4 separate regions of the Homo sapiens genome follow, and all the other regions are linked to region 1. Evidence: promoter capture Hi-C in human tissues and cell types (Jung and others, 2019). All regions are on one chromosome and are shown on one strand. Each heading gives the region's core, a stretch centred on a gene start or on the middle of the fragment in contact. The rest is flanking DNA. Distances are from core to core; before and after follow the strand shown.

Region 1 (5,788 bases), core at 1,485-3,984:
CATTAAAAATTCAACTACCATTATCTCATTAAAGAAAGAAAATTTCAACAATAAAAATTAGGAAGGGCCTAACTTCAGGATATAAGAGTAACTCAGTATGTTGTATTTATTTTTCCCATGTCTCTACAGACGAGTGAACATGTCGCTACAGACTGATGCAAACTGATGCAACTGATGTGATCTAATTGCTCTCTACACCCATAATCAAGGCTTTCCTCCTTGGACAGCTTTAGATATACTTGGCTGAGTTTGGGTTAATTAAACCGCTGTCCTATGCTAACTATCCTTCTCTTGCCATATCCTTTAGTAGAGGTTATTAATAGTATTGATTAAGTTGTAGGTGATTTCTTCTCCCAGGCTTTGGAAATGTTCTGTCTCTTCCAATTACAGAATATGTTGATTTAGTAAGCTCAGCTCTGCTTAGACATCTTAAACTAAGTTTTCTAGGGTGACTGTGGCACATATATGCCCAAATAACCACTTATCAGGGGCACTGGCACCCCCTTGTTTTGCTAGTGGACCATGATAGCGATTATTCTAAATCCAGTGGTGAATTCATTGGAGGGCCAAATAAACTGAGATGAGTTGCTTATTCTGTGTTCTAGCAATTATTCTAAATCCAGTGGTGAATTCATTGGAAGGCCAAATAAACTGGGATGAGTTGCTTATTCTGTGTTAAGTTATACAAAATAAAAAAGACTTACTAATATTGTAAACTTTATTTTAAGTGCCTCTTTGGAATCTTCTATATGCCCAGTTCTTCTGTGGCCATGTTTTATATTGCCCCTCTTCTCCCCGAAGGTACATTGGCATTCTAGAATGAGTTCTATACTTAGTTGTCTGTCCTTAACGAGACTGGCTGTTGCGACTCCTAGGAGAGGCGAGCTGTGAGAGAAGTTTACCAGTACTCCGAGTCTATACCTCAAAGTTCCCTTCGAAGTGTGCATAATGTAGAGACTCATTTATGCTGAAAATGGTGTGAAATAAGTCTTCATTTATTAATTTCCTCTAAGCTGTCATGCTTAAAGGTGGATCAAAAGAATAGAAGCTAGCATACACATGTGCTTTTGGCCAACTGAAAAAGTTCTATTTACTGATGTCTGTGTTCTTCAAACACTCAATATGTGTAACTAATAATGGGCTAGTCTGCCCCTGTTACTCCTAGACGAACCCAACCCAAACTGAAATGTTTGCCATCTTTTCAAGGTCAGGGGCTTTGCTTGGAATAGAACATCAACCTCAGAAGTAGAAGACCTGGATTTGAATCCCAGCTCCACTACTCTCTTCAGCAAGTTGCTTAAACTCTCTGAGCCTCAATTCCCTTATATATAAGATACGAATAATTGCTTTTTCTTCTTCTTTCTTCTTTCTTATTCTTCTTCCTTCTTCCTTTCTCCTCCTCCTCCTCCTTCTTCTCCTCCTCCCTCCTCTTCTTCTTCCTCTTCTTCATTACTTTATATGCTAATTATGAGAATTACATATGATAATTTAGGTAGAATACTTCACAAGTTGCCAGACATAAGTTCTTACTAAACATTAACTTTGTAGGTCAGAGCTCAGGACAATAACATGGCATATAATAAACATTCACTAGACACTTCACACACACACACACACACACACACACACACACACACACACACACAGTCCTGTGTCTGTAGAAGGAGGAATCTCATTGGAAATGCAAAGTTAAAAAGCTGTTACTGAATTCTGAACTTTAGTTTCCAGGTCTTGACCGTTTAACCAGACCTACCTGCTGCTTAATCTTTGCTCATAACTGTCTCTAGTCTCCCAAACAGATTACCTTTGCTGAGACCTGTGCATTTTTATGATGAATCCATAGAGTCACCTATCTGACCACCATCCCTCTTTCCATCAATATGCCCTTATCTTTACAGATCCTGGTATTCCTTGGACCCAGAAACACATTCCCTTGCTATTATCCTAAAGCAGCTAAGCCTGTTAAAGGAAAGCATTTAGAAATCTAGATATCTGCTCCTGCATTTTCATATTTCTGTATGCCAAGAAAAATTTGAATCAAATTCTCTATTGATACATTAGGTATAAACCATGGATCTGGGAGAAATTAAGTTGGAAGGACAAGGACCCATGGTTGATCCAGAGCACTTAATATTCGTGTAGGACCAAATTCTGTTTAATATTTTTATCCTGCTGTAATTAAAAATTTTTGACATCAACTATCAATACAGGTACATATGTTCTCCCTACCTCTGCTAAAGCTCCTTCCCCCACCACCAAAAACAATAACAAACAAAAAACAAAAATAAAAACATCGATAAGTGAACTTCTCAAGTTGCTGAAAATGTACCATCAGATTCAAGCCTGTTTCTGAAAGTTTCAACTCACCCAATCAGACAAAAGGCTGAGGAAGGGAAACATTTATCAAGTTACACTGAGGACTCCATCTGTTATCTTCGACCTTTGTTACCAAGTGACACAGAGGAGATACTTGAAGGCAGTTTGAAAGACTTGTTTTACAGATTCTTAGTCCAAAGATTTCCAATTAGGGAGAAGAAGCAGCAGAAAAGGAGAAAAGCCAAGTATGAGTGATGATGAGGCCTTCATCTACTGACATTTAACCTGGCGAGAACCGTCGATGGTGAAGTTGCCTTTTCAGCTGGGAGCTGTCCGTTCAGCTTCCGTAATAAATGCAGTCAAAGAGGCAGTCCCTTCCCATTGCTCACAAAGGTCTTGTTTTTGAACCTCGCCCTCACAGAAGCCGTTTCTCATCATGCCAAGCCAACAGAAGAAAATCATTTTTTGCATGGCCGGAGTGTTCAGTTTTGCATGTGCCCTCGGAGTTGTGACAGCCTTGGGGACACCGTTGTGGATCAAAGCCACTGTCCTCTGCAAAACGGGAGCTCTGCTCGTCAATGCCTCAGGGCAGGAGCTGGACAAGTTTATGGGTGAAATGCAGTACGGGCTTTTCCACGGAGAGGGTGTGAGGCAGTGTGGGTTGGGAGCAAGGCCCTTTCGGTTCTCATGTAAGTAGCAATTGCATTTGAGTTATTTAATGCTTTAGGCAGACTCTTCCCAGTGTTGCGAGGAATTATATTTGAGAATTTTGCCGTGTTTACTGCAGGACTTTTTAAATCGGTGTGAACCATATGAAAAACCTATGACTCTGAGCAATTTCTTCTTCCTAGTTTTTATTATTTTATACTTGCTTTTTATTATAATATAGAGTTAATTCATTGTTACATAATTAAGGTTTTTGGAAATATTGGCAATTAAGATGCTTAAGTATTAATATTTATGTAAAAAATTATGGAGTCTTTTTAAAAAAGTAAACTTGGGGAAATAGGAAAGCTGTAAAGAATGATCTTTATGCTTTTTGTTCTTTATAAAAAGAACCAAGGTCATGGGCTCCGTATTTAACCAGGTTGCCACCTTTCTCATGATTTTGTTTCCTGCTCCCCACTCCCTCCCATTATTCCTGCTAAGACCTTTCCTGCTGCTAAATATTCAGTTTTCATTTTTAACTAATTTGGAATCATTTGGCTATAGAAATTTAAAATGATCTGCTGTGCTAACTGGGAAAGAAATGGATGCCTATTTAGTATAGAACATTTTAAACTGATTGACCTGCAAATCATGTAGAGAATATGAGAGAGATTTTCTTGTTGTGATTTTTGTGAAATGGAAGTGTAATCCACAGTATTTATAACCTGTTTATCTTAAGAAGAGAATTTTTAAAAATTACCATGTGAATAGGCAACTCATTAAATGAAAATTAATAGGAAGTCATTTGTTATATCTCTTACAACACACATTCAGAAGTTATTATTATTTCAGAAGGGCTGGTTTGGAACAACCTTATGAAGACACAGTCAGTAAATTACTGCATAAATCACTCTTCAGGAAAGGAGGTTACCAACTGAAGCATTTAAAATGAATTATTATTTTGCCCAGGTTTTTTTTTTCTTTCTAGTATAGGTAGAAGGCTAAATTAATTGAATTTATTATTAACATATGCAGTGCCTAATTAAATTTCAGTGCTGGTCTATTTATATTTCTGCAACATTCCTTATATCTTCTTAGCAGTCATTGGACACCAACCTTCAGCTCACATAGGTTACTAAGTGATATGAATTTTCATAGGGCTCCAGAAAATTTCCAAGAATTGGTTGTTAGCTTTTTAATTGATGAAGTGGATACCAGTTCTTTTCACTGAATGGCTTTTATTCATTAAGGTAATGGGGCTGTTAGAGTTGCTTAGTTTTCCTGGGGAAGGGGAAGGAAGAAAACAAAGCAGAATGTCATGTGATATGCAACTGTATTAAAAAACCGAAAAGGAAAAAAGTTGAGAGAGATGATTTAACCGTGAGTCACCGGCAGCCAAAGCGTGAGTAAAGCTTCTCACAGATGAATTTAGACAAAAGCGGAGAAGGTACTGGTGAATTTTCTGGAGCCTTTACATTTTCTACAGTGAAATGGAGATAAACTTTACTCATGCCATAGGACATGTTTCAAAACAATAATAAGATGTTTTCTGAACACTTACTACATACTAAGCACTTTATATGCTTTGTCTCATTTAATCCTTACACAGCCACATTCTTCTGGGGTTTAGCGAATGATTTTTGTGGTTGTGTCCTATGCTTGTCCTGTCTAAGGATGAAGTTGTTCTAATTGGGTGCCCCTCCTTTTGCTTTCTGTGAGGACTTGCAGAACTGGTGGGGTTTAAACAGTACCCTCACTTATCTCACAGAATTTCATTAGCTCCCAGATACCCCTGACATTCTCCCCCTAGCCTAGTGAAGAAAATCTTCCATTTACTTGTTCATTCTGCAGTGACAGCTCCATCAATATACAATAGACTATACATATTAAGTGTACTGTATATACTATACATGTTAAAAATCTCATTCATTTTGGTGAGGCCCAGCTAAGAATACTTACAGTAGAGCTTTTTTTTTTTTCCTAAGCATAAAAGTATCTTTTTCAATGCAGCATGAGACAGAGTTGGGAAAACCAAAATAAATAGATCCAATGGACTCCCCAAAGAGGATAATATTCATTTAAATAAACACCCCTCTCAGTGTTAAAACTTTCTAATCAACATGCCTTTGGGACACATTGCACCCTCAAAGTTTACACTCCCATTGCAACGCAGCTTTGTGGTTCACGTTTTTTCCATTCAGAATGTCATTACCCTGTCAATGATGTTTCATCAACGTTTGCTTGGATGAGAATCCTCTGATATTCTTCCTGATAGAAATGTATAAGCCCTGTTCATATAAATGAATAAAAGATCTAACCTTACTTTCTCAGTAGTGGCTTCCTTGGAGCAAAAAGCAGGGACCTCCAGAGAGCTCAGGTGGATGACTCTTTTCTGTTTCTTCCAGAGCTCAACTTACAATTAGTGCACAATTCATTTCCCAGAATGTCTTCTTTCTTATTGTGCCTTTAGAAAGTTATTAAGCAAACATTTGAATTCACAGAATCTTACCAGTGTAAGAGGAATGGAAAAGGTAACTTATCAAGGTAACAATCACTTCGTGGCCAGTTTTTTCGGCTCACTGCAACTACCCCTCCTGGGTTCAAGCGATTCTCCTGCCTCAGCCTCCCAAGTAGCTGGGACTACAGGCGTGCACCACCATGCCCAGCTAATTTTTTTTTTGTATTTTTAGTAAAGACAGGGTTTCACCATGTGGGCCAGGCTGGTCTCATGGCAAGTTTTCTTTGTGTTGTCATGTTATTATCAATTAATAGGAATTTATATTTCAGTTCTGTTAGGTGGATAAACACTATTTTGCATACCTAA
Region 2 (5,788 bases), core at 2,016-4,515, 57 kb before region 1:
TTTTATCACACAGGTATTAAGCCTAGTACCTATTAGTTATTTTTCCTGATCCTCTCCCTCCTTCTGCCCTCCACCCTCCGATGGGCTCCAGTGTGTGTTGTTCCCCTCTGTGTGTCCATGTGTTCTCATCATTTAGCACCCACTTGTAAGTGAGAACATGCGGTATTTGGTTTTCTGTTCCTGTGTTAGTCTGCAGAGGATAATGGCCTCCAGCTCCATCCATGTCCCTGCAAAGGACATGATCTCATTCTTTTTTATGGCTGTATGGTATTCCATGGTGTATATTTACCACATTTTCTTTATCCAGGCTATCACTGATGGGCATTTAGGTTGATTCCATATCTTTCCTATTGTGAATAGTGCTGCAGTGAACATACGTGTGCATGTGTCTTTATAATAGAATGAATTATATTCCTTTGTTTTCCCTCATTTTTTAAATAGTAGTGCTTATTGCATTGAGATGAGCAGAGTATGTTAAGAGATACCAGTAACTTATGGCTCCATTTTCATAATGCTGGTATCATTGATAGAGTTTGATCTGGAAGTAGTTTTATTATTTACCATTTACACACAAACATCAGAAAGAGGTGTGGATTTTATATGTGACTTTGTCTTTACTAATTAAAGGAATAAAAGGAACTTCAGAGTACCTCACTACTTTTGAACTAATTTATATAAATAACTGCCTACACTTTATAGTGAGGGTGGATTCGACCTTTAGGGAAAGATCTTTTCTGTAGGGCAAATGATTTTTGCCATTCCCTGGAGGATTTATTTAAGAAAGGTTTTCCTGTAATCAAGCCTCCCTGGGAAAGACAAAGACATTATTTCTAACAAATGCCAGTTCTTCTATCAACATTGTATGGTCTAAAATCCATGTGTAGGATGTGCTGTGATCCTTTTTTATGGTAGAGAGGCATCATGACTTGAATGGATAATTTCAGATTAGGCTGCACAAAAATTGTATGGAGACATTGTGATCTAAAAGGAGTTTTTCCTGTCATAAATTGTTTTGACAGTTCTATCATCCAGTGTATATCTCTCGATGTTGCAAAATGAAATTTATAAAAGAACGTAGGCCCTTCTTCTTTCTGACTTACCACATGACTAGAGATGTTCTGGGGAAGAGAGACCTTAACAAGGCTTGGAGGAAAGGCATCAACAAAATATTTATTATTCTCTCAACTTCCTTTCTTCAAAGTATTATAATTGAGGTCATTATAAATCTTTGCAAGCAACACTTTTCCCTGTATGCTATACCTGTGTATTAGTCAGGGTTCTCTTAGAGGGACAGAACTAATAGGACATATATCCATATATATATCATATATATGATATATGTGATATATATCCATATATATCATATATATGATATATGTGATATATATCCATATATATATCATATATATGATATATGTGATATATATCCATATAAAATATATATCCATATATATCATATATATCCATATCATATATATAATAAACTCCCCTTTATATATACTATATATCCTATACATCCATATATATGATATATATGATATATGATATATACCCATATATATGGATATATAGGATATATAATATGAATATATGTGTGTATATATGTATAGATATATAGATATATATCTATATATCCTATATAATATATAATATATATATCCTATATATATTATATATATAATATATAATATATATATCCTATATATATTATATATATAATATATAATATATATTATATATAATATATATCCTATATATATCCTATATATCCTATATATATCCTATATAATATATATATATCCTATATATATATCCTATATATATCCTATATATATATCCTATATATATATCCTATATATATCCTATATATATCCTATATATATATCCTATATAATATAGGATATATAATACATATAAAGGGGCGTTTATTAAGTATTAACTTACACAATCACAGGGTTCCACAATAGACTGTCTGCAAGCTGAGGAGCAAGGACAGCCAGTCTGAGTCCCACAACTGAAGAATTGGAGTCTGATGTTTGAGGGCAGGAAGCATCCAGCATGGGAGAAAGATGTAGGCTGGGAAGCTAGGCCTGTCTCTCCTCTTCACGTTTTTCTGCCTGCTTTATATTTGCTGGAAGCTGATTAGATTGTGCGCATCAGATTAAGGGTGGATCTACCTTCCCCAGCCCATTGACTCAAATGTTAATCTCTTTTGGCAACACCCTCACAGACATACCTAGGATCAATACTTTGTATCCCTCAATCCAGTCAAGTTGACACTCAGTACTAACCATCACAACCCACTACCAGAAGACATTATTACAAATAAAACAGCCTCTCACATCTCTTCAGAGAAGTTCCATGAAGCTGGTTCCAAATAAAAATGAATAAATGATGTTTATCTAGGTCCTACAGATAATGCTAAAAAGAAAAAATTGATTAGTCCATCAATTCTGTTATGTACTGACACTAACACCCTCACATTTTTGAGGTTGACTTATTTTAAGAAAAAATGGTTTAGAAGATGCAAGGAAAAACAAAGAAAACCCCATTAATATGTATTGATTTTGTTGTAACATTAATTTGATAACTTTGCTATTGCATTTCGACAGTGGTGAAATAATTGCGTTAGTGTGACTTGGTGAAAACATTATACACATATAAATAAAGTTTATCAATTTCTATTTCAGAGTCAGAGAAGGATCTGGGATTTGAAAATCAACTGCAATGATGTTGACATGCATTAGAAATCAATTCTCAACCATGGCAATCCAAACTACTTATTCATGATAGCCAAAGAATAAATATAAATCCTGATCAAGTTATAAGAATCACCTTTTAAATCCTCCTGCCTTTCAAAGGACAGCATTTCTCTCTATTGAAGATAGATATTTGAAGTAATAAGGTTCAAGTTGTAGTACTTTTTTTAAGTACCTGCTTTAAGGCATCGAATTTAAATTCAGATTATTCCTGAAATTTATTTAAAATGTATATACATTAATGGCCCAGAAAGCTGTCAACTTACATTTCTTCAACTACTGAGTTTTGAGGCAGCAATCTTACTATGTTTATCTTTATATCCCTGGTTCCATGCATAGTGTTGTGCACATAGCAGGTCTTCTATAAATATTTGTTGGAGATAGAGTAAGTGAATAGCTGAATGAGGCTTTAGGGTTAGGAGATCTACACAGTAGGTATTCTATAAAGGTTTGTTGGAGATGGAGTAAGTGAATAGCTGAATGAGTCTTTAGGGTTAGGAGAAAGTTTGTACGGTGTCATTTTCCTTCCATTATGATTCAATCTGAAGCATTCTGCAGCCTCTTTGGTCAGATGCAATTGATTTTCACATTTATATTCTGGTGTGGATGCAGCCCTGGGCTTTTAAATTTCTTCAATGGGAGGGATATTAGCACACATCACATCATATTATGGTTTGTTGGGTGTATTTATCTCTCCTAGAAGATTCTGAACTCCATACCTTTTCCAGTTTTACATTCCTGGTGGCTAACATGGCATGTGACGTATGGTAGATCTTCAACAAATATTCCATGAATTAACTGGAAGCCTTGTGGGATTGCATCCTAGTCTTCTGTAGCTTGACCTTGGGCAAATCACTGCACCCCTACGGGTCACAGTTTCCTCATCCATAAAGTGAACACTTTTAGCATTCTGTGACTCCTGCTTAACAGACTAGAAAGTAATACTTGGCTGCACAGTAGTAAAAACTGGGTAACTTATGGGAAATTTTCTCCTGTGCAAACTTTATTAGGAAGAGGAAGGGGAAAGGAACTAGCATTTATTATATGACTTAAGTGATCAACTGTGCAGTCACTTTTTGAGATAGAATGTTATATTTCCATTGTAATAACATTATTTTATAGGTGAAATATATTATGTATTATTTTATAGATATGAAAAATTGGCTTCAGAGAGGTATACAACTTGCCTAAGATCACATAGTTAGTGAATGGTTGGGCCAGGATTCAAATCCAGTTCTGCTGACTTCAAAGCCAATATATTTTCCTTTATGCATATATGTTCTACCTGCTTAAATTTTGATTTTAAAAAATAAAAAAAGGGAACCAGGCCAGGTGTGGTGGCTCAAGTCTATAATCCCAGCACTCTGGGGGGCTGAAACAAGCAGATCACTTGAGGTTAGGAGCTCAAGACCGGCCTGGCCAACATGGTGAAACCCCATCTCTACTAAAAATACAAAAAGTTAGCCAAATGTGGTGATGGGCGCCTGTAATCCCAGATACTTAGGAGGCTAAGGCAGGAGAATTGCTGGAACCTGGGAGGCAGAGGCTGCAGTAAGGCTGGATTGCACTACTGCATTCCAGTCTGGACAACAGTGCAACAGTGTGAGATGCCATCTCAAAAAAAAAAAAAAAAAAAAAAAGGGAACCAGTTTGCACTGAAGGTGGGATAGATCTTTTCATCTTGTGTTTCTTCCTTTTACAATTTGAGTCAAGCAAAAATATGAGTGATTCTTGCTGAAATTGTATTTCCCAATTTTATTTCATCTGCTTAAGTTCTATGAAAGAAGTAGAAACTGAGGGCATATCAAAATAAGGGAAAGAGGCTGTGGGGCAAATCAGAAGCAAGATGGCTCCATCAAGGGGACAGTAACATGAGAAGGACTGGAGGCAAGACGAGAAAGTGACAGGAAAGGCCTGGTGGGGGCGGAGGGAGGACAAAGGACATTTGCCTGATAAGAGCTAAAGGAACAGGTTATGTGAAAATAAACATATTCAGGATTGATATAGGAAGTAACAAGTTTGTGTGGTTTTATAGGAAAAGTTCCATAAGGATCTCTGTATCCCGTGTTAGATGGCTAGATGTCACAGCATATACCATGATGGGCTCAGGCCACTGCAATAGAATTTATATCTCTGATCTGATACCACAGTTTGTTTGTTTGTTTTTAGTGATAGGATCTCACTCTGTTACCCAGGCTGGAGTGCAGTGGCATGATCATAGCTCACTGTAGCCTCGAACTCCTGGGCTCCAGCAATCCTCCTGCCTTAGCCTCTCAAGTAACTAGGACTACAGGTGTGCACCACACCTGGCTAATTTTCTAAAAAATTATTTTTTTCGTAGAGACAAGGTCCTGCTACATTGCCCAGGCTGATCTCAAACTTTTGGCCTCAAGCAATCCTCTCACCACATCTTCCAAAGGCACTGGGATTACAGGCATGAGCCACCATGCCTGGCCTCTCAAAGTTTTAAGGACTATTCTTTAAACTTTTCACTGCTTGATTTTGCTTTAGTGGGTTTACTTTCAACACAACATTTTTACCTGTTGTAGAATTACCAATGCCAGAGATGTATTTGTTAGTGAGATCAAACTGCTCTCACACAATCATAGGCAAAATGTGGGATGTATTTGTATCTCTATAGGAAATGTGAAGAAAGTTGATAGTATCTTTCCCAGGAAATAGAAATGGCTCTCTGTAATGCCCAATTTTCTTTTCAATGCCTTAGGTTTTCTCAAAAGTTACTCACTAGTTCACTATATTCGGGTTCTAAAAGAGGTTTTATTCCAATAGAAGTTTTAAAAATCTAAATTTGTTGGGAAGAATGGGTGAGAGAAGCTCCTATAAAGTGTGTATGTTCAAGAAGCCAGGTGGCTGAGGGTCAGCTAGCTAACATTGGTAAGTGACGACTGGCTCAGCCTGGGACAAACCAAACTAAGCTAGAGAAATTATTATTATTATTACTACTATTATTATTATTATTAGATGGAGTCTCGCTCTGTCGCCCAGGCTGGAGTGCAGTGGCGCAATCT
Region 3 (5,788 bases), core at 2,159-4,658, 40 kb before region 1:
TTTATGTGCTGGACATTGTGAATACCTAGCTGAATCAGACACCATTGCTGCCCTCAAGGGTCAATAGTCTCATTAGCAAGTAGGGAGGAGATAGACAAATAAATAACTATAATTCAACATAAGTACTATAGAAGAGGAGGTATATATATTATGAGGTGAGAATAAAAGGACAGAATGAACTCACTCCTCCAGGGAGTTAGTAAAGAACTCACAGATCTTGATGAGTAGCTCTCTACCGGGACATCAAACTGGGAAAGGGCTTGTGTTTAGTTTTTTGACAGAAGGGACACGAAGGCTGAAAAATGAAAAATGTGCGCAGGAAAAGTTAACAATATGGCTGTGGCTGGAGAATAAGGTGCACGGTAGGCAGTAGAGAGAAACAGAAAGATAAGCAGTAACCTCTTGGTAAGCATCCTGACTGGGTTTGTGATGATGGAGCAATAATGTTCTGTTATCACCAAGAGGGGATGGTTAATGTGTTACCCAGGAAGCGACATGGCAACCAGGCATCTATGCAAAGGGCACTTATTTTCAGAGCCCACTCCAAAGAAAAAGTAATAATTCAAGCCAAAAGATGTTTAATCCACTCTTCCCTCCCCGCTCTTCAATTGTAGCTCCAAATAATGCAGATCCAAGAGGGGTACTGCATACCCCAGAAGTTCCTTAGATTTGCCCAAGACCAATCATTCCTGAGGCTAAATTTCAGAAGCTAAGGATTATTTGCAAAAGTCATAAAACTCAGAGGTAAAAGTGAGCATTGCTGCACAGGAACCTAAGAATCAAATAGTGAGAAATACGCAGAAGAAGGCTGGTAAATTTTACTACCAGTTTCTTAGCAAGGCTCAACTAGAGACAAATATAGCACGCTATTATATATCCCCTTGATGGGTAGCTGGATGTAACCATATATATAATAAACTTTGTAGAGTTCTCAGTTCAAAGTGTGGCTTTAGTCATCATCTTTGCCATCTTCATAAATTCCCTAGCTAGACAACTCCTCTGGATATTGTTTTGTATGTAGATGTCTATTCTGAGCAGACAGCCAAGAGTCTAGTGTTCAGAGTGAAGAAACCCAGGTAACAAGGCCCCCGTCCAGACTGCTGTCTGGATGTGTTGCCTGCCATACCAGTTTGAGGTGCTTGGACTTTATCCTGTAGGCCAGAAATTCCTTATCTCTGCAGTAAATGCTCTACACAGATACTGACCTCTCAGACCTTGGGATAACCAGGTAGAACTTGGGACCGTCATAGCCCCGGAGTGTTATTTTTCAGTCACAAATAATCTCTTTCATTTAGCTCAGTATGTGCCTAAAAATATTACTGTTTCCTGTGTGTTGACAGGTGAAAAGACCAGGAAGCACTCCTGCAATGGGGAGCTGTCATGAACTCTGACAATTCCCTCTATCACCCTGAAACATAGGTACCCCCAAATTTAAAGTTTTGGATGTCCCTTTGGATCAGGGAAATATGCATGTAGAAGAGAAGACCTGGGACCTCCACACTGGGATAATGAAGGCAGATTATCAGGAGGATTGAGAGCAGAGAGGTGAAGTCATCATTAAATTACCCTTTGAGATGCAATTACATGAAAGATACTGAATAGCTGCTATCCATCTCTTCTCAGAAATGAAATGGAACTGTGTTTAAACTGCAGCCTAAGGAATTAATGTTAGATACAAAGATGCAACAGAACCAATTCCATGCTCCCAAGACACATGTGTTTATAGTATGTGAGGCCTACTTCTGTACCTATCATAGTCTGCTTTGATTTGAATTCATTGTGTATTCATTCGCCATGCTTATTCATGCTTGTAGCCACAGTGCCTAACTCAGTGCCTCACACGGAGTAGGCTCTCAATAAATATTTGTTGCATTGCATTAACTTGTTAAGTGATGGTGATCAGGAAAGACAGGCTGGTGTTCTCTGAAAGTCAGTAAATACAGAACAGGTTTTCTCACTTGAAGTGTCTTAGGAATCATGGACCACAGAACCATGATGTATTCTCTTACTCATTTTTATTTCTCACATCTCTGTCTCCCAAGTTCTAAACTAAGAAATTTGTATTTCCTTCCATGGAGATGGTTGACTTGCTGAATTTTCAAGAGCAAAATGGTATCTATTATGTTCCTTTGAGCTTAAATCTATGAGATGTCCTTTAGTATAGATACATTCTATAGGTGAAGATTTCCCATTCTGTTTGCTACATGTTTTGAGTACATTATGCTGTTCCTGATGATTCAGTTGCAAGTTTTTCACATTCTTGTGCTGCGATCTTGCCCCCTTCCTGACTACACACTCTACCTGAGTTGGACAAGGGACCAATTAATGTGTTGTTTTATCTGTTATATGTACTTTCCTTATTTTGAAATAGGAAAAGGAAAAATGGGAAAACATTGTCTTTGCTACTTGTCTGAATTTAAACAATCTTATAACTTTACTAGAACTTAAAAAAAAAACCAAATCATTGGTGATCAATAAAACTGTAATCTGTATTATAATGCCACAAGTCTTAAAACCCGCTATATCAGTCAGGGTCTTAAAACCCGCTATATCAGTCAGGGTCCTGGCAGGGAGCAGATGACACACTCCAGGAATAACTGAGGAGAGTTTAATGAGGGGGTAGTTTCACAAAAATGGGGCAGAGTCACGGGAGCCAACAAGCGACAGTGAAGCACTCAGGAATGAGCCCCACTGGGGAGCTGTACCATCCATAGAATTGGAAGGGCAAAATGAAGGACCTGATGGAAGCTAAGCTCTGAGAGAGGGGCTTCCTGGCAGGAGCTGTGGTCTTAAGTAGAGGAACACAATGGCCAAGCCTGGCAGGAGGTAAATAACCCATTCCTCTCTCCTCGCATCCTCTAATCTTCTGACGGTGGCACCCATTGGCCAAACCCAGTAGGAGGTCTGCAGATACCTGCCTCCTAGGATATAGGAAACAGGGGGAAAGGGTAAAGACTATTTCTAGAGGGTCCAAAAATACACAGCCAATCACTGTATCCGTCATGGTACAGTGACAACCCCTACATGGCAAACCCCTACTTAGAATAATTCAAGAGGTCAACTGCAAAGCATCTATTTACAATACTGTGCATTATATAAGGAAACACAAGGGATAGGGCAGTAAACTGGAGTTAGTAGAAGTGAGGCTGTTACCACTCCAGCCCCAAAGAGACAAGGGGAGAATGCTGTTACCAGAACTTGGAAAGAGAGTATGTAGGGGAAGCTGCCTTGAGAGAAACACCAAGCTTTGTCACCAGCCTAAGGGAGGGGCCAGGTGCGTGGACACCCTCACCTCCTCCTCATGCCTTCTAGGCTCCCACAAGGGATTCCTATTGTTCAAAGCAAACTGGAGGCCAGAAGGCAAGGGGGTCCTTGTGGCCTGTCCATATAAGTCAGCACCCTCCTCCCCTGCCCCAGTGAAGAACAAAGTGGAGAAGAGTGACAAGTGAATCTGGAGGAACCAGAGACATCTGGCATGCCAGCTTACAACTAAGTCACTAACTTGTCCCTTCTTCCCACCCTTTCTTTCCTTTCTTCCAACAAACTTTATTAACTTTTGTGCCAAGCACTGTGCTAGATGCTCTCACATAAATTATTTATTTAACTCTTAAAACCTCCTTCAAAGGCAGGGGATGTTATTTTTCCCTAAACAAGCATCCTCTATTGTGTTGATCTCTCAGTGTTTTTCAACTGTTTTAATATAAGAGCTCTTAAAAAAATAAAACCTCACTGGAAACCTAAAGTATGCAACCGATAAACCAATATTCCTTAGCAGAAATTTTAAAACATAAATTTACATTTCCTTATTATTAGGTTTACCAAGGAGAATAGTAAGAATATTTTTGATAAACACAAGTTTGAAATCTATTTTACTGCCCTAGGTTGGCATCAGCAACCACAAACATTGACAGTCTCCCTGAAACAGACTTTGACAATCACTGATACAAGTGACTGAGAAAACATGAAGCTTTAACTTTTCAAATCTACAACTCCTCAGCAAAGCCTCTTTTTTTTTTTTTTAAATCAAAATCTGATTACTAAAACACATGAGATGCAACTGACAGCTATACTTTTCTGGTCACCTGTTCAGGAAATATCTCATCCCTTTGAAAACTCAGCCTTTACGCCTCAGTTATCGAACACTTTGGAGCAGCTTAGCCCAGGAAATGAAGGCTCTTGTTAAAAACATAGAGATTTAGGAAGCCAGGACGTGATTAACCATGTGGCGTTTTGCCAAATGAGCAGTTAACAACCAGGGCCAGGAAAACAAGTGCTGATTAGTAACCCCTGGGCTTACAAAAGTGGTTTAGACCCAATCCTAACAATCCACTGTGACAGACCAGAAAATTCCTAGCCTATTGTAGCTGGAACTGTGCTGCCTTTAAAAAAGTATTAGTCTAATCAAAATGTATTCATCAGGGCTTCTACATGTTTTTTTAAAAAACTCTATGATTATTTACATTTAAATTTAGCACACTAGAAATCTCATAGGTGTTCTCTAGGAAACATAAAATTAAACTTTGAACCTACTCTATTTTTTATTTTTTATTTTTATAGATTTGAAAGGTAGACGTGCAGGTTCGTTACATGGATATATTGTGTAATTGTGAGGTTTGGGCTTCTAGTGTACCCATCACCCAAACAGTGAACACTGTACCCGATAGGTAATTTTTCAACCCTCACCCTCCTCCCACCTTCTCCACTTTTGGAGTCCCCGGTTTTCCCAGTTTTATCATTTCCCTCTGTATATCCATGTGTATCCATTGTTTGGCTCCTGCTTATAAGTGAGAAAATGCAGTATTTGATTTTCTGTTTCTGAGTTATTTCACTTAGGATAATGGCCTCAACCTCTGTCCATGTTGCTGGAAAGGACATGACTTCATTCCTTTTTATGGCTGCATGGTATTTCATTTTATATATATCACATTTTCTTTATTCAGTCAACTGCTGATGGACATTTAGATTGGTTCCATGACTTTGCTGTTGTGAATAGAATCTACTCACGATGTTTTTAATGGTTAACATTTTTTAATGCTTTGATGTTGAATTTAGTTATTCATTCATTTATTCATTTAACATATATTTGAGTGTCGGCCATGTACTGAGAAGTGTTCTAAATACTGGTAATAAGTCTCAGTGGGCTAAACCAGGAAGAACACTGCCTCTGAAGTTGATCAGAATTGGGATACCAGTTTTGAATACATTTGAGTGCAAGAAACAGAATGCCAAGCTTACACTGGCTCAAATTATCCTTTTTACTTCTATCCAATCAGTAGAAGTCTGGAGGAAAGTCGTTGCTGACTGTGGTTCAGGGGCATGGCCATGAGGTGCCACATCTCAGCAGTGCTCTTAACCTTTCCTTCATATTCATCACTTCATGGTGACCAGATAGCTGTGAAGGAAGCAGGGACACCAGGAACAAGTTGGTGGTGGTGGCAGTGTTGGGAAGAGGAGTTATGCATATTTTAGTTGGGTCATGTTGAGTCAAGAGACTCCATGATGTGATGACACATGGCACATGTGTTCTGTGGACAATGAGAGATACAGAACTGTATTTAAGGACAGAAGTCAGAGTTGATGAGGCAAGGTAATATGATCCCCAGTATTGGAGGTGGGCCTAGTGGGAGGTGTTTGGGTCATGGGGCGGATTCCTCATGAATGGCTTGGGGCCATCCCCATGGTAATGAGTGACTTCTTCCTCTAGGTTCACCCAGAGAGCTGGTCGTTTAAAAGGGTGTTGCACCTCCCCCCTCTCTCGCCATGAGAAGCGCCTGTTATCCCCTCACCT
Region 4 (5,788 bases), core at 1,909-4,408, 40 kb after region 1:
AGGTCTAGAAGAAAGATGTATATTTGGGCATTATTCGGATATAGATATTATGTAAAGCAATAAAATTGGATGAGATCACCTAGGGAGAGAATGCACATAGATAAAAACTGACCTAGGACCACTTCATGTCTAAAACACCAAAAGCAATGTCAACAAAAGCCAAAATTGACAAATGGGATCTAATTAAACTAAAGAGCTTCTGCACAGCAAAAGAATCAGAGTGAACAGGCAACCCACAAAATGGAAGAAAATTTTCACAACCTACTCATCTGACAAAGGGCTAATATCCAGAATCTACAGTGAACTCAAACAAATTTACAAGAAAAAAACAAACAACCCCATCAAAAAGTGGGTGAAGGACATGAACAGACACTTCTCAAAAGAAGACATTTATGCAGCCAAAAAACACATGAAAAAATGCTCACCATCACTGGCCATCAGAGAAATGCAAATCAAAACCACAATGAGATACCATCTCACACCAGTTCAAATGGCAATCATTAAAAAGTCAGGAAACAACAGGTGCTGGAGAGGATCTGGAGAAATAGGAACACTTTTACACTGTTGGTGGGACTATAAACTAGTTCAACCATTGGGGAAGTCATTGTGGCGATTCCTCAGGGATCTAGAACTAGAAATACCATTTGACCCAGCCATCCCATTACTGGGTATATACCCAAAGGACTATAAATCATGCTGCTATAAAGACACATGCACATGTATGTTTATTGCGGCACTATTCACAATAGCAAAGACTTGGAACCAACCTAAATGTCCAACAATGATAGACTGGATTAAGAAAATGTGGCACATATACACCATGGAATACTATGCAGCCATAAAAAATGATGAGTTCATGTCCTTTGTAGGGACATGGATGAAGCTGGAAACCATCATCCTCAGCAAACTATCGCAAGGACAAAAAACCAAACACCGCATGTTCTCACCCATAGGTGGGAATTGAACGATGAGAACACATGGACACGGGAAGGGGAACATCACACACTGGGGACTGTTGTGGGGTGGGAAGAGGGGGGAGGGATAGCATTAGGAGATATACCTAATGCTAAATGACGAGTTATTGGGTGCAGCACACCAGCATGGCACATGTATACATATGTACCTAACCTGCACATTGAGCACACGTACCCTAAAACTTAAAGTATAATAATAATAAAATAAAATAAAATAAAAAAACAAAAATTGATGTAGGACCAATTCCTGAAGAACACTGACAGTTAATTTTTTGGTTTAGGAGGAGGAGAAGCCAGCAAACGACACTGAGTAGCAATATCCAAAGAAAAAGAGGAAAAAGGAAAACTGGGAGATTATGAGTGTCCCAGAGGGAATGTTTCAAGATTACCATCAGCAGTGAGCTTTGTGTAAAGGTGGCCTCCTGTAATAGAGGTGCGGGCAGGAGAAGGCAGAATAGGGAAAAGGGGGTGAAAAAGCTTCCCTCAAGATTTATAATACAGTGGAAGAGAGAGACAGAGAGAGAGAAAGAGAAAGAGAGAGAGAGAACTTAAGGAGGTAGAGGAAGAGAGAGAACCAAAAAAGAGGGAGCTGAGTATAGAAGCAATTAGATTCATAGTTTTTAGTTGCGGCAGTGATATTTGAGTGGGGGCCTTTTATATATTCCATTCTAGGTGTTTCCCAGTTGATGGGAGAGGGTCTTACCTAGATCTGCATGTAAAAGGGAGTAGGCCAGCTGGCAGACTTGACATGGATCAGTGGTAGAACATCCTAGCAGTTCTGTGAATACTCTCTGAGAATGACATGAAAGGTATTGGTTCAGGCCTTTTGGAGGTGATAAAAACCACCAAAATGTGGACTTATTGCAAATTGTATTTGTTACCATTTGCAATGATTATAATTATTCTCTTATATATAGGCTTTCTTACATATAGCTTCTCTTACACATAGCGTCATGAGTTATGCCTTCTCTTACATATAGTGTCTGCTATGAGTTATGCCAAGCAGGGCAAACAAAATTGCTGCCTTTCTTTAAAAAGAGGACGCTCCTAGTATGGGCCTAATTAATTATGATAATTACAGCTATGGCATGGAACATAAGCACATTCATATACACAAAGACAATAAAATAAAGAACAGTTCAAAAACAGAACAGTTACATTATATATCAGTTTCAGTATGAATAATACCCTGGACTCTGAAATATGTCTGGGGCACATTATTCTGTAATTGGTGGTGAAAAAAAATCTGCATCTTATCTCTACGCCAATCCTTATGAAGGAGCTGTTTTTCAGGAGTTCGAGAAAGAGACACAGGGATGTCCAGTCATCAAAGCCGCAGAGCCTGAGGAAGAATAAAGGATTTGTGGCAGGAAAACCCAGTAATGAATGTATTCTGCTAGTTTCTCAGCATAGAACTTAGAAAAGAGGCCACAGAAGGAAAAGAGAAGTAATGTTAGACAGCTGATGTTGGCAATGGGCAAAGAATTTCATTCTCATATGCAGGGCAGTGGCTAAAGGGGCAGTGTTGTGAGGAATCACATTCCAGGTCATTCATGTCCAGGGTGTGGTAGGAGGACTGTGTTTCATTTATTTTGTACATGGCCCAGCTATGACCTTGTGCAAGGAAATGCTTAATCATTTTCTATCACAGTTGCAAAGAGATTCTTATCCTACTCAGAATGTACGTCTTCTCTTCTGTTTCATTTACAGTCACAACCCAAGTCCTTGCTTTGACCTCCAAAGCACCACTTGATGTATCCACTTCAGAAACACACACAGACAGCTCACCTCTTTCTATCCCTTACCTTCCTCCCCTCTTCACTCAAACCACCTACTTCCTTTGCATTCACTCTTCCTTCAGCCTGAAATAATCTTCCTCCAAATATCTACCTTCTCACTCCCTCACTTCTCTCAAGATACACTTAAATGTTATATTCCCTATGAGGCCTCCCCTGGCCATCCCTCCCCAGCCTTCCTATCCCCCCTCTCTGCTTTATTTTATTCTCCTTAATATATATCACACTCTGATAAACCATTGAATGTACTTATCAAGTTATTGCCTCTCTCTCCCTTTCCATTGTCTCCATCACTGAGAGCTCTGTGAAGAAAAGGATTTGTACCTGTTTCATTTAGTGCTGTACCCCCAGTTCCCACAACAGCGCAACAGGCACTCAATAAATAGTTGTTGAATAAGTGAATAAAACAGAAGTAGCTGCATATTTTCTGGTAACAAATGATATTCTTCTGAAAATGTCATATTTTCAGACATATTTCCGAAAATAAATTCAAATTAGATAAACATTGTATTTTTAGACCATTTCTTCTTTGCATTAATCATCCTTCTCAATAATATAACATTTGTAAAACTTAGGTTAGATATGGGCTCTTCAACTTTCCATTACAGAAGATAAAGTGAAAAGGCTAGACCCAATGGTGTTATTCCTTCATCTACATCTATCCTTTGGAAACACATGACCAAATTGCTTGCCATCACAATCTCAAAATCTACCCTTTGGTATTAACTCACTTCACTTGTCCCTCTGTCCCTTTTTAGATGGTAGCCATCGGTCTCTGGAGCAGTGTAGAGTCAGAACAACTTCTATTTGGGGAAGAAATCATTGCTGGTGACCTTACTTTCAATTACTAACTTTCTAGTGACATTTACATAATTTTAGAGAAAATTAACACCTACACTTGTAAAGTTGTGGCTTTCCCACACCTATTTATCATCTCTCAATATTCCTTGAAAAGGAAATTATCAATTTATCATTCTATATTGGCAATGAAATGCCCCTAATATCTGTCACCTATAAGACAATTGAAGATGATGTGTTGAAAGCTTTCTGAAAATGCTGATCATTACTTTAAATGGAATTGAAATTCCAGTTTATTATTTCCAAAAATATGATCTTACTGATCATAGGATAACATTTCATAACATTTCAGAGATTTCTTCCCCTTCGAGGAGCCAAACCCATAGGACCTCTGGACTCCCACAGATCCTGGCAGGGAGTTCCCACTCATAAAAGCACAGGTGCCCTCAGAGTCATTCAGGGATGAAGAAGCAACCCTCATTGGCCATGTCCTACGTTCCCCATATAGTAAGGACTGGAGGAGACCAGTGCTCAATTCTGCAGTCTCAGACAGCTGTCAGAGGAGAGTCATGAATGTGCAGTGTCTAGCACATTACAAACGTTTGTTAATTGACTGATCATTCATGGTGTGACAGCCCTATAACTCAGCTATCCTATTCAGTCAGAAATTAACTCAGTAATCAAAGTCATTAAAAGGAAGAAAAAAAAAACCTACAGTACCAGACAGATGGTGGGGAAATCAGACAGATGAAAGGAAAAATGGCTGTAGGTCATTGAGTAAGACACTGGGCAGCAAAACCTGGGCCTTGTGCCTGGTTATACTCCACATTATAGCTCCAGCAAGGTTTGGCAGGATTTCCACAGTCCTGGCTTATTCTAACCTTTCTTGGGAGCAGGAGCAGTGTTGGTCAGATAGACAGACACATAAGGAATCTGTCCAACTGGCACCGTGTGAATTTGGGCTCTTGGTGTACATGGATAACTGGGAAAAAGAGGAGAGAGACATGTAGGACTGATCCTACCGTTTGTGAAGTCTTGGGCAAGAGTATGAATGAAAACCCACTTCTCTTCCCCTGCCTGGCTCCACTGCACACAGTAAAGAGCCTCAAGCATAGGTGTGTGGACATTGCACCATGTATCCAAGCTCTGACCATGCCTCTTGAAACAGCTATTCCTCAGCCACCCTCTGACCATGGGAGGAATGACCCAGGAGAAATGACCACATAGGTCTTGAAAATGGGCTCAGGGCTATTTACGAAGTCAATTCCGGGGTCCCAGGAGTATGGACTAAAATGTGAGTCAGGCATGCCAGATGGGTATGTTCTATTGACTTCAAGGATTCCTCATGCTGTGGGAAGGAACCTCTCCAGAAGAGAGACAGAGCAGAACCCTCTAAATGTGGGGCACAAAGCAGGAGCCCCTCTTGCTGGATTCAAAGGGTCATACTGGAAGAGTGTAGGTTGAGTCTTATTCTCACATCACTCATATCACTTACACACTTCTTTTATAGCCTTAGCAGCCATGCCACAAAGAGAAACTCTTCATGCATATCTTTTGGTCCATAAGTCATAAATAGTTATCCTTGATCCCATGTCTTTTTTAGAGCCATGGACAGAGAGAAGCAAAAATATACCAAGTTCACACTGAGTTGTCTCCCTTCATATCTCTTAGCAGTCACTGAAAGGTTATGAGACTCAGGCTGGGTTTCTATCCTCTGTCCCTGAAACGACAACGTTGACCTCGTGATCAACCCTAGAATCCAGAGCAAGATCTCAGACTGTCCTCTCTACTACCAGACAGCACACTTTGTTTTGGGGGCTGTGTGCTTGAAATATTAGCTATGGCAAAAGGCTTTGAGTCTTATGACACCCCAAGTAACTTTTACTTTAGGAATTTGAAATACAGCCTTGCTGTAATGCTGTCTCCTTAACAAAGCAGTACCTTTGAAATATTTAACAACTTGAAAAGGAAACCGAGCTTGAATTTTCCTTTCAGGTGCTCAGGAAATAATGTTTCACTTCTGTCTGAAATTCACCATCTCCTCAGACAAAGAAGGCTCTTATGGTAAAAGGAATGGCATTTTCTCCACAATTTTCGAATAAAAGATAAAGAGAAAACAGCACTGCAGCCTTTTTGTTAGGATCTAACAATAAAGAAATAATACGGTTTTGCCAGGGGAGAGCTCTGGTTTTAAGCTCAGAATACAAAAATAGGCTGACA

What was found. Contacts are between HindIII fragments. The study calls those that stand out against the background at their distance.
Region 2: a contact is called between a fragment that was not itself captured here and the fragment with the promoter of CLRN1 in region 1, in 2 of the 25 tissues and cell types used here (aorta and psoas muscle).
Region 3: a fragment that was not itself captured here is called in contact with the fragment with the promoter of CLRN1 in region 1 in 2 of the 25 tissues and cell types used here (small bowel and stomach).
Region 4: a contact is called between a fragment that was not itself captured here and the fragment with the promoter of CLRN1 in region 1, in 3 of the 25 tissues and cell types used here (IMR-90 fibroblasts, neural progenitor cells and small bowel).

Annotation. Positions count from the first base shown.
Region 1 is chr3:150,969,673-150,975,460 of GRCh38, reverse strand. It overlaps CLRN1 (clarin 1), which reads left to right and starts at 2,734. Exons shown (of 3, transcript NM_174878.3): 1 at 2,734-3,005. The coding sequence starts at 2,753. It overlaps CLRN1-AS1 (CLRN1 antisense RNA 1), which reads right to left and starts at 2,783. Exons shown (of 6, transcript NR_024066.2): 1 at 2,368-2,783. The HindIII fragment of the contact is 11,205 bases long and covers 1-5,788 here.
Region 2 is chr3:151,026,872-151,032,659 of GRCh38, reverse strand. The region is part of intron 1 of CLRN1-AS1 (CLRN1 antisense RNA 1); the gene reads right to left. Among named protein-coding and RNA genes, the nearest start is that of MED12L, 56 kb to the left of the region's middle. The HindIII fragment of the contact is 8,714 bases long and covers 1-5,788 here.
Region 3 is chr3:151,010,044-151,015,831 of GRCh38, reverse strand. All of the region lies in intron 1 of CLRN1-AS1 (CLRN1 antisense RNA 1), which reads right to left. Among named protein-coding and RNA genes, the nearest start is that of CLRN1, 40 kb to the right of the region's middle. The HindIII fragment of the contact is 4,220 bases long and covers 1,299-5,518 here.
Region 4 is chr3:150,930,538-150,936,325 of GRCh38, reverse strand. All of the region lies in intron 2 of CLRN1 (clarin 1), which reads left to right. Among named protein-coding and RNA genes, the nearest start is that of MINDY4B, 28 kb to the right of the region's middle. The HindIII fragment of the contact is 6,636 bases long and covers 1-5,788 here.